Linked DNA regions of Homo sapiens: region 1 is linked to region 2. Evidence: promoter capture Hi-C in 16 types of primary human blood cells and fetal thymus (Javierre and others, 2016). All regions are on one chromosome and are shown on one strand. The core of a region is centred on a gene start or on the middle of the fragment in contact, and the rest is flanking DNA. Distances in the headings are between cores, read along the strand shown.

Evidence for each region. The method cuts DNA at HindIII sites, captures the fragments that hold promoters and counts their contacts. A CHiCAGO score of 5 or more calls a contact.
Region 1: a contact is called between a fragment that was not itself captured here and the fragment with the promoter of FATE1 in region 2, in 2 of 17 cell types (M2 macrophages and M1 macrophages). The highest score is 8.4, in M2 macrophages.

What each region holds. Positions count from the first base shown.
Region 1 is chrX:152,795,141-152,800,753 of GRCh38, reverse strand. No RefSeq gene overlaps it. Among named protein-coding and RNA genes, the nearest start is that of MAGEA6-DT, 28 kb to the right of the region's middle. The HindIII fragment of the contact is 6,373 bases long and covers 1-5,613 here.
Region 2 is chrX:151,713,099-151,718,680 of GRCh38, reverse strand. It overlaps FATE1 (fetal and adult testis expressed 1), which reads right to left and starts at 2,646. Exons shown (of 5, transcript NM_033085.3): 1 at 2,456-2,646; 2 at 1,282-1,409. The coding sequence starts at 2,561. The HindIII fragment of the contact is 6,237 bases long and covers 1-5,582 here.

The sequences.
Region 1 (5,613 bases), core at 1,244-3,743, 1.1 Mb before region 2:
GGCCTGGCATCACCCTTGTTATTGACCTTTGTAGTCAATGATAATTATTTCCTTCTTCTTTTTTTTTTTTGAGACAGATTCTCATTCTGTCACCCAGGTTGAAGTGCAGTGGCACGATCTCAGCTCACTACAACATCTGCCTCCTGGGCTCAAGCCATCCTCCCGCCTCAGCCTCCAAGTAGCTGGGACCACAGGCCTGCACCACCACATCTGGCTAATATTTTGTATTTTTTGTAGAGATGGGATTTTGCCATGTTGGCCAGGCTGTTCTCGAACTCCTGAGCTCAGGCCATCTGCCCTCCTCGGCCTCCCAAAGTACTAGGATTACAGGTGTGAACTGTCACGACTGGCCTAAGGATAATTATTTCAAAGGAATTATGTAAGTCTCCTCATTTTTTCCTTTTAAAACCTTTGTCTTCCTTTACCTCTCTGAATACACATCATTTACTGTGGCACGTGTAATCCCACTGCAATGCTCTATTCCCAAATTTTCTTTTAAAGAGCCTCTCTCCATATAATTAGGTTGACAATTCCCTGAAGAGAAAAATAACTTTTGAAAAAATAAGGATAAAAGATTGGGGGAAGAGCATTTTATCACAGAAATTATATAGACATACTGGAGTATGGTGGTAAAAATCAAGATTGGCTTTTATTAATTTTATTGTTTTAAAATTATCTGTAGGGATTCAACTTCCACTTCTGGGAAGATGGAGTACTCTCCTATTTCTCCTGCTAAGCACAACTAAATGCCCAGAATGTTATACACAAAACAAGCAGTAAGATGGGTCTGAATGGTAGAGAAAAGAGGAGACTGGCTAGGGACCTTGGAATCCAAGGAACAACATAGCATAGCGGTGAGTTCCCTGTGTTTTCTTTTCTTTCTTTCTTTCTTTCTTTTTTTTTTTGAGACGGAGTCTCGCTCTGTCACCCAGGTTGGAGTGCAGTGGCATGATCTTGGCTGACTGCAACCTCCCCCTCCAGGGTTCGAGCAATTCTTCTGCCTCAGCCTCCCGAGTAGCTGGGATTACAGGCGCACGCCACCACGCCCAGCTAATTTTTGTATTTTTAGTAGAGACGGGGTTTCACCATGTTGGCCAGGCTGGTCTCAAACTCCTGACCTCGTGATCTGCCCACTTCGGCCTCCCAAAGTGCTGAGGTTCCCTGTGTTTTCTTTATGCCTTATATATCCCAGAAATGGAGCTAAATAAGCCAACAGGTACAGGGAGTTGAGGGGAGAAGCCTCAACAAAAGCCTTCTCTCTCTAACCAAAAAATCAGGAAAAGGGTAACCTAGCAAAACAGAAAACTTTTAGACACTAGCTGCTCTACTCTCACCAAATATCAACACATACAAAAAATCTATGGCCCCACTCACATCCACACCAGCAAAGGCTAAGAGGGGAGCCTGGATTGCCACCCTCACTAGGCTATATCAAGGGCTCCAAGTACCCCCTCACCAGCACTGGAGTGGTGTCAGAGGTGACTGAGTAGAGAGCTTGAGCTTTTATTCCCAGCATGTAGTAATGAAGCATTTCCCTCCCCACAGCATGTTGTTTATATAGCTCATGTGGGGAACTTGCACTTCCACTCAAAGATAAAAGTCGCCCTTTCCTCTCCTGACTGGGGTGTCATCAGAGGAGGTCTCATAAAAAGTGAGGACTTTCACCACTGTCCAGGAACAATGAGACCATCCCTACAACCTGTGGTGTCAGCAGAGGCCACATGGGGAAGAGTAATGAGAAACACTCACCCCTCCCAAACAAGGAGGTATCAGTAGAGCCCTAGTATGGGGCCAGAACTCCCACCTAAACCCAGCAGTATTGAGTGGGCTCCCACTTGGGTGTCAATGGAGGCCAAGTGAGGAACTTGATCTTCCATTTCCATATGTCAGTAATGAAGTGGTGCCCTATCTCTTTTGCTAGAGTGATGTCTGAGAAAGCCAGCTAAAACACAAGGTTTAAATAAGATCCAGAATAATATGACATAACAACCAAAATATCAATAGCTCAATCAAAAACCATTCACATAACAGAAACAGGAAGATCTTGAACTGAATAAAAACTCAGTCAGTACACATCAACACCAAGATGATGGACATTGAGAATTATCTGACAAAGATTTTAAATCAGCCATTATAAAAATGCTTCAAAATGCAATTATAAACACATCTGAAACAATTGGAAAAAATAGAATATCTCAGCAAAGAAGTAGCACATATAAAGAAAAATCAATTGATGTTTTTAGAACTGAAAAAAGCAATAACTGAAATGAAAAACTTAATGGATGGGCTAAAAAGCAGAATGGAGATGACGGAGGAAACAATCAGTGAACTGAAAGATAGAACAATAGAAATTTCTCAGTCTGAACAACAGGGAAAAAATACATCAATATAAAAATGAGCAGAGCCTCAGAGACCTGAGGGACCATAACGAAAGATTGAACATTCATGTCACTAGAATACCAGAAAGAAAAGAGAAAGAGAATAGGGCTGAAGAGGTACTCAAAGAAATAATGGCTTAATGCTTTCCAAGTTTAGCAACACTCATAAACCTATAAATTCGAGAAGCTGAATGAATCCAAGGAGAATAAATCCAAGTCAAGATACGTCATAGTCAAACTTCTGAAAATTAGAGACAAAAAAAAATCTTGAAAGCAGCGAGAGAGAAATGACATCTCAGTTTAGAGGGAAAATAATTCAAATGACAGTGAGGTTTGCAACAGAAACCATGAAGCCCAGAAGAAAGAAGCACAACATCTCTCAAGAGCTGAAAGAAAAGAACAGTCAACACAACCCTACATATAGCAAAAATATCTTTCAGGAATGAAGGGAAAATCAAGATATTCCCAAATTAAGGAAAACTAATAGACTTTGTCACCAGGAGATTTACCCTAGAAGAATGGCTAGAGGAAGTTCCCTAAACAGAAAGGAAATGATAAAAAGGGTAATGGGGAATTGGAACATTGGGAAGGAAGAAAGAACATGGTAAACAAAATGTAGATAAATACAATAGACTTTCTTTCTTCTTTGAGTTTTCTAAGTTATGTTTGACAGTCGAGGCAAAAATTATAGAATGGCCTAATATGTCTTTAAATGTATGTATAAGAAATACTTAAGACAATCACATCATAAATGGAGAAGGGTAAAGGGATATGAAGGAAGGTGAGGTTTCTACACTTTACTTGAACTGGTAAAATGTTGACAACAGTAGAGTGAGATAAGCTAGGTATATATAATAACTAAAGCAACCAGTAAAAAGGATATACAGTTGTAAGTTGGCACTCCCATTCTTACAAGAAAATGCTTGACAAACTGAAAACTTTTTCTTACACCCATCAGAGAACTGAGATTGCAGGGCAAACCACTGACTGAAAATGTGGAGCGACTGGTTCACACAAAGAGGAGCAGGTAAGATCTGCTTACCTGTAGCAGAAGCTGCTGGAGCCATAAACTGGTAAGAACATCTAAATGGTGATTTTGATGACTTTCTGAAAGCTGAGTGTGGGGTAATGTAAGTGATAAACTACCTGGGGCTGCAGTCTTAAGGGGCAAACATTACAGGCTTTATCTCCAGGAACCCCACCATATTCTCGCAGTGAAGATCTGAGAAAAGTTGGCCTTGTGGATCTGACACTGGGAGGCAAAGATAAATCATTGTAAAAGAAATGCCCAAGATTTTCCACCTTCACCTCTGAGGTTATATACCCCATTCTGGCTACAAGATAGGCTAACGGCACCTGAGACGCTGAAGCCAAAGCTGAGGAAGAAAGCAAACTCCGCAACAGTTGAGTTGGGCCTGGGCACAGTAAATCTGGAGATGACTCATACCTTCAGTGAACTCGTTCACAAAAACACAAATCAACCTCTTTTAGAATCTCAGGGTTCCCGAATACTGCTGAGGGCCCTGTCAAGAGCGAGGGCAGCTAAAAGAAAGTACATGGAGCAGAGGTGGGGCAGGCATTGATCTGGGTGGGTGTTAATCATGGGTAGATGAGATGATCAAGATGGCGCCCTTCCTCCTATAAGGCCCTCTTAGTCCATCACCCTGGGGCTCATTTTGGGTGACCCTATTCTCATTCAGAGGCTGTTTGTCAGCCTGAAGCATTTCCAACCAGAAGCTCCAAATCCCATTTTGATGGTGGAGAGTCTTCATTAAGATTCTTCCATGACCCAACTCCCCAGACTAGTGGTAGTTCACATGCTGGAGGAAAGGCCCTCCAACCAGCATCACTGGTGGCTCCCCATCCATGGAAGAAAATCAAGGTGAACTTGGGTTTAGCTGTGACTTCTTAGACACAACACCAAAAGCATGACTCATGAAAGAAAAAATGGATAACTTAGACATTATTAAAATTAATAACTACTCTCTAAAAAACACTGTTAGGAAAATCCTGCCCATACCGGTGGTAGTTCATGTGCTGATGGGGAAAGCCCTTCATTCCTGGAGGCCCTCTGGCCACTATGTAATTAGTTCAGGCTCATCCCATGATACCTGTCTTCTCCACACTTAGAGTACCTCTGATCTCAGGAAGGAGGGAGACCCCCTTCCTTGCTCCATTAAGTACTCCAAGTCCCACTAGTGGGGGTCTACAGCGAGGGTTTTCTGTCAAGGAACAGGATCTGGAGGACACCTTGCAATGAGCAAAAAAGGAGAGAAGCCAAGGCCCCAAAACCCCTCTTCCCACCAATGGCTCTCACCCAGATGAGGAGGAGGTAGCACTTTACTCCCATCACATGTGGACAACCTGGCACTGCCTCTAAGTTGATAGAGACCTCCTGGGCCTGGTCAGGGTGTTAGCCCAACAAGCCTTGTCAGAAGTCTCAGGAATCATACTGTCAGGTCACACTTCTCTGAGCTCCAGGGCTCTAGAGATCAGCAGGGGCTGTGGTGAGAGATGGAATGAACAAATCACTGGTCCAGGCAGCCTTCTCCTAAGCCTCCTCCTGTCTAGCCACCAGGTCTAGCTCTTTGAAAACGAAGACCCCTGAGGGTGGGAAGGTCATCTGTGTTGGAGACAAGGGGCAGAAGGAGCTGCCATTTCCCCCTTCCTCCTTGACTTGTATCATCTCCAACCCTTCTGGTACTGACCAATGTCCCTAGCCTCTTTCAGTCCTTTCCCCTCCAGCATTATCGATGCTCTCCTTGACCCATACTGCTTGCTCTCTAGATGATAGAAACATATGAAGGCTCATTTTTACCATTCCATGTATTTTATGTATATTTGAAAAAAGTTACAGGAAACCTTTAAAAAGTAGTTCTTTAATCCTCCTGGAATTAATTTTTGTGTGTAATTCCAAGGAGGGTTCTTGTTACATTTTGTTTTCTACATGGATATTTAGTTGTTTCACTGTCATTTATTAAAAGTTATAGTTTTATTATTGCCCTATCTCTCCTGCTCTTTTTAAATATATAAATCAAAAGTCCATGTATTAAGTGGGTGTGTTTCAGGAATCTCTATTCAGCTCCATTGTTCTATTTGTTACACCTTGTACCCATACTACAAATTCTTTATCACTAGAGCTTTCTAGTCATTCTTACTATCTGGTGGAGGAACTCCTTTTATCTTCTTTTATCTCAAGAATGTCTTGGCCATGCTTAGCCTATTGCATGTTGTG
Region 2 (5,582 bases), core at 1,397-3,896:
CAACAATGTGGCCAGCATTTTTCTAGAACATTCAACACCCACAATGAATGTAGCTTAAAGTACAGAACTATGGGACTCACATGATTTCCTGGAGCAGTCAGGCCTCCCTCCCTCTCCAATCTTGTTGCCTTTTCCCAGCAGCCTTTGCAACAGCATAACAACAATTTTTCTAAAACTTTCCCTTACCTACAGTGAATGTAGCTAGCTAAAATGATTGGATACAGAACTGTGGGACTCACTTAATTCTGTAGAATAGTCAGGTTTCCCTCCCCCTCCAAAATGACTGTGTTTTCCCAATATCATTTGCAACATTATAGCCACTATTTGTTCTAGAACATTCCTTCACCCATATTGAATGTAGCTTAAAAGGATTGCCTACAAAATAGTCAGATTCACTTGCCTGGATTTCTTTCTTCTTTCTCTTTCTTTCTTTCTTTCTCTCTTTCTTTCTTTCTTTCTTTCTTCCTTTCTTCCTTCCTTTCTTTCTTTCCTTTTCCTTTCTTTTCCCCTTCCTTCCTTCCTTCCTTCCTTCCTTCCTTCCTTCCTTCCTTCCTTCCTTCCTTCCTTCCTCTCTCTCTCTTTCTTTCTTTCTTTCTTGACAGAGTCTCACTCTGTTGCCCAGGCTGGAGTGCAGTGGCATGATCTCAGCTCACTGCAACCTCTGCCTGCTAGGTTCAAGCAATTCTCATGCCTCAGCCTCCTGAGTAGCTGGGATTACAGGCATGTGCCACCATGCCCAGCTAATTTTTGTATTTTTAGTAGAGACGGGGTTTTACCATGCTGGCCAGACTGTTCTCGAACTCCTGGCCTCAAGTGATCCGTCCGCCTCCTCCTCTCAGAGTGCTGAGATTACAGGCATGAGCCACCATGCCAGTCCACTTGACTGGATTTCTTAACAGCCAGAAAGCATAGGAGCCTCACCTGACTTATTGTGTGTATACACGCGCACACACACACACACACGTACCACACACATAATTTTAAATACAGGAAAGCGTTATTTCACACAATAGATTTATAGAGTAAAGTATTTATGTACTCCCCATGCAATATTTGTTTCAGGCATTCTGAATTCCCAAGGTTGAACCCCCAGCATAGGAAAGGATGACCCTGACCTTTAATTGGAACTTCCTGTCCTCATTTGCCAGCTTGGAGCACAGGAGCTTCCTCCTCCTCACAAGTCAACGTCTAGCCCTGCCTGACCTGGTCAGGCTAGAGCCCCTACAACCAGTACTCCCAACCCCAACCTGGCCACCAAGTGCTGAGGACCCCATACAGTACCATTTTCTTGGGTCGGGTGGCAGTCATATTCCAAACTCGTTTGGCTGAAGCAGAGCCAGCAGCTTTTTGTTCCAACTTCTGCTTCTTCTGGGAGGCACCCCGGGACCGAGATCCAAGCTCCATCATTTCTAGAGAGAAGAACAGAAGCTCCAGGAGCACCCATAGAAGTTGCACCAGGGTTTCTTGGGCACAAAACACACCAAAAAGAAGACAGAGTCTCCAGCTTTCTTGGGAATCACTCAGCACCCATTAACCACTGTCCATCAGCTGATCCCAGGTCTCAGTTTGTTCATCTGTTCAAAAGTTAAACCGGAATTTCCTGAGGGCTGAGCTCGAGACTAGGTTACTCTCCAGTAACCTAGAGACCAATGACCAAGAACAAGATTCCAGCTATCAAGGAACTGACCATCTGTTTGTGTATAAGGGGGAATGACAGGTGTAAAACAGAAAGCAATCTATCCTTGCAAATGCAGACAGAGAGATGCAGGCTCCATAAATGATCAAAACAGGGTAACATAGTGGAAGGAAAGGGCTCCTCCTAGAAAAGTAGGAGACAGCAATTGAGGTGGGGACCTGAAGGAAAAAAAGGACCCAGCCCTGGGAAATTGAGGGAAAGAGCATTCCAGGCAGAGGAAACAGCAAATGCAAGGTCTTTGGGGGAAGAAGCAGGCTTGGAGCATCGTAAGAACAAACATAAATGCAATGTGATCTGGATCCCTTTGTGTGCTATAGAAATGGTATTTTCTGTCTATATCATAGCATGAAACGTTTTGAGGAGGCTGATACAATCTTATAGATCATGGAATTTGGATTTTCCTCCAAATGGCAGGAAAATGAATTGGAGGATTGGGAGAGAGAATTGATCTCTGGTCTCATAATTTGAGCCCTCTGAGTATTTTGCAACAGAGACTGTGGTGGCTTGGATAAGGGGGAGACAGAGGTACTACACATGTTGTTCCCATCCTCCTCCCTCCCAGGGAAAAATGCTCACATCATCTATCCCTTTTCCCCTAGCTCCCTTACATCAACCCACAAATCCTCGAAGCCCGGCCAACACACAGATGTGCAAACACTTCCGTGCACACATGCACCTTTTCCAACACACACATGCACAGGTATAGACACGTATCTACACAGTTGGCTGTAGCCTAGGGGTATTTTAGGGGATCCTCACCTGCTATCACCAGGTGCTCTTGGTTTTCCCCTTGGCGTCCATGATTCAGTTCTTCTGCCAGGGACATTTCCATCTCCGCCTTGGTGTTGGGAGGGCCTCCTGCCATCACAACCAGCTGTTCTCTTGTAAGCTATGGCTAAGGATGCACAGGGTGCCAGGAACAGAGGAGTCACACTCAGAAAATCACCTCTTCCGGAAACAGGAGCTCAAGGAAGATATAGTCAGATCTGGGGGTGGAGTGAGACTCCCTCTCTAGGCTGAGGCCTTGGACACAGTACTTTCTGTTTCTATTGTATCTTGCTGGCTAGGTCAGTGGCCTTCTCCTCTGCTACTCTGTAAGCAACTTAGGAGAAGAGATACAATTCCGTGCCTTTGCCTGTGAGAACTGCTCTGGCTCATGAATCTCCATATTTAGCCCATGGGGAGAAGGGTGGGGTCCACCCTCCATCATTTCTATGAAGAAACAGGGATTGGCACAGGGTCCGAGAGCCAACAGTGGCCACAACAGAGTTAGGTGCTAGCAATCCAGGCCATACCACACCTTCAGAAGGGATTCTCTGGAGAGCGTATCCTACCTCCCCCATCCAGAGTCCCCAGACACGGGAGGTAGCCTTTTCCTGAAGTAGGTCAGCCTAGGCAGGAGCCATAACAAAGGGAGAGAAGGGCAAGAGAGGTGGGACCTGACTGCAGCCACTAGAACCCCCAGGGGCCTCAGGCCCTGCACCTTCTAAGTCCCAGTTCTCCCTCAGCTTCCCTACTGATTAGACCACTGTGATGGTCAGGTTTATGTGTCACCTGGCCAGGTTCTAGTCCCCAGTGACTCCATCAAACCCTAGTCTAGGTGTTGCTGTGGAGGCATTTTGTAGCTGTGGTTGGCATCTACAACCAGTGGACTTGAAATAAAGTAGAGACCCATCCTCGATGATGTGAGTGGGCCTCACACAATCAGCTGAGAGGCCTGAAGAGCAAAGACTGAGGTTTCCCAAAGTAGAGGTAATTCTACCCCAGGACTGCAATGTCAACTCTTCCTTGAGTTGCCAGCCTGCAGGGCTGCCTTGCACATTTCAGACTTGTCAGCCCCACAATCGCATAAGCCAATTTCTTAAAATAAATTTCTATATACTTGTGCATATGCAGATATATACATACATACATGCATACATACATACATACATACATACATACATACATACATATATACATCCTATCAGTTCTGTTTCTCTGGAAAACCCTGATTGCTACAACTACCTGTGGTGAACCCTTCATTCTAGGAAACAACCCCAGAGCCCCTGGGGGAATAGGAGGCTATTTGTAAAAGGAATCAGGACAGGTTTATATAAGGTTCCTTTTACAAATAGCCTCTTCTTCCCCCAGAGCCCCTGGGCCAGGTGGGAGGAAGAGGAGGAAGGAAGGAGGAAAAGAAGAAGGAAGGGAGGAAGGAAGGAAGGAAGGAAGGAAGGAAGGAAGGAAGGAAGGAAGGAAGGGAGAGAAAGTGGAAACGAAGGGGCCAGGAGTAGCTGAGATAGGGCGGCATGGTCTGAGGCTGCCTGCCCCCTGCCCCCACCTCACCTGTCCAGCTTGGGAACCAGAGCTGATATAGGCCCTGCCTGCATTCCTGGGGGCCCCAAAGAAGCCCTTCCCAGATCCAGTGGAGCAGCTGTGATGAAATTCGAGCTTTCTGGAGGGCCACCTTGGGAGCAGAGAAACTGCTGAGTGTGCTCAGCTCAGTGGGATTCAGGAGCCTGGGAAGCCCAGCCAGATTGAGCAAATGAAAATATAGGTACGAAGTACATTTAAATTTCAGATAAACAACAGTATAAGTATTCTCTCGTACACTAACTTTTGGGACATATTTACACTAAAGAATGATTCATGGATTGATTTGACATTGAAATTTAGCTGCATATCCTGTATTCCATCTGACAATCTTATCTCACTATGACTTCAAGATTTTACCTTGGGCAAGTTTCTCGCTTCTTTTGGTGTCAGTCTCCCCCATGGACAAGCCTCCCTACAGGGTGGCTGGATTGTGAGGAGCACTCAGAAGTCAGCAAAGCTAGAGCAGTGTGGGCACTGGCTTGCCACAGGGCCTCGGGCTATGGAGGCCAGATTTCTGTCTCGCTATCAACTGGCCCTGGTGGGGCTTCTTGGGCACAGGAGCACAGGGTCCAGGTGCATGTGGAGGCACTGCCCCCTGGTGGCATAGGAATCCACCACCTAAAGCCAAGCAAAGAGGGTGGGAGAATTCCTTCCCAATCCCTGAACCCCCAATGCCACTCAAAAACCCCAGCATCTCACCCCCTTAGCATGCCTTCCTTTCTTGGATTGAGTGCCAAGGACAACTTGGAGGTGACGAGAGTTTGCTATGTGCCTTTGAACTTGTCTCTTAGCATGCTAGCTAATTATAATTTCATAATTATCATCTGCATGGTAATCTCCTTTTGAAATGGCCCTAAATTCGTACTCCAACCATTCTGAAAAGCCCCCTACCCCAAAGTCTGTGTGCTAACCTCAGGGCCTCGAAGGACTAGAGCACCTGGGATACAGAGAGAGACCTTTCAAGTCTCACACGGTGCCTGGGTCCAGGAAGATGGCACATGGCCAAGTGTACATAACAGGCTGCAGAGCCCTAACACTCCAGTGGAAGGTTCTGCTCACCCAAAGGTTCAACAGATGCTTCTTCATAGGGGAAAGAAGGGTCCAGAACATACCTGGCTTGTATGTGTGTCTATATGTTTTCAGTGTTCAGTGTTTTGCACAATTGAGATCACCTACATCTGAGGTGTGTGCCATATTCTGCAACTTATTTTTTCAAGTGAACCATGTGCTTTGGGGAATCTCTCCGTGTGAAAACAAATCTACCTCATTTCTTCTCAGCCCAGCATAGCATTTCCCTACACAGCTGCCTCCCCTTGCTCCTTTATTGACTTGCTCATGGATATTTTGGGTGTCTAGAGCTTTTATATTTTTAGAAACAATGTAGCACTGAGCATTCCTGAACATGTCTCTCTGCACACATAGGTAAATGGGTTTGCACAGCAGGTGCCTATAAGTGGAATTGTGGGGTTCTAGGGTATGTGTGTTGATGATTTTGACCTATATGGACCAATATTGTCAAAGGAGCCTC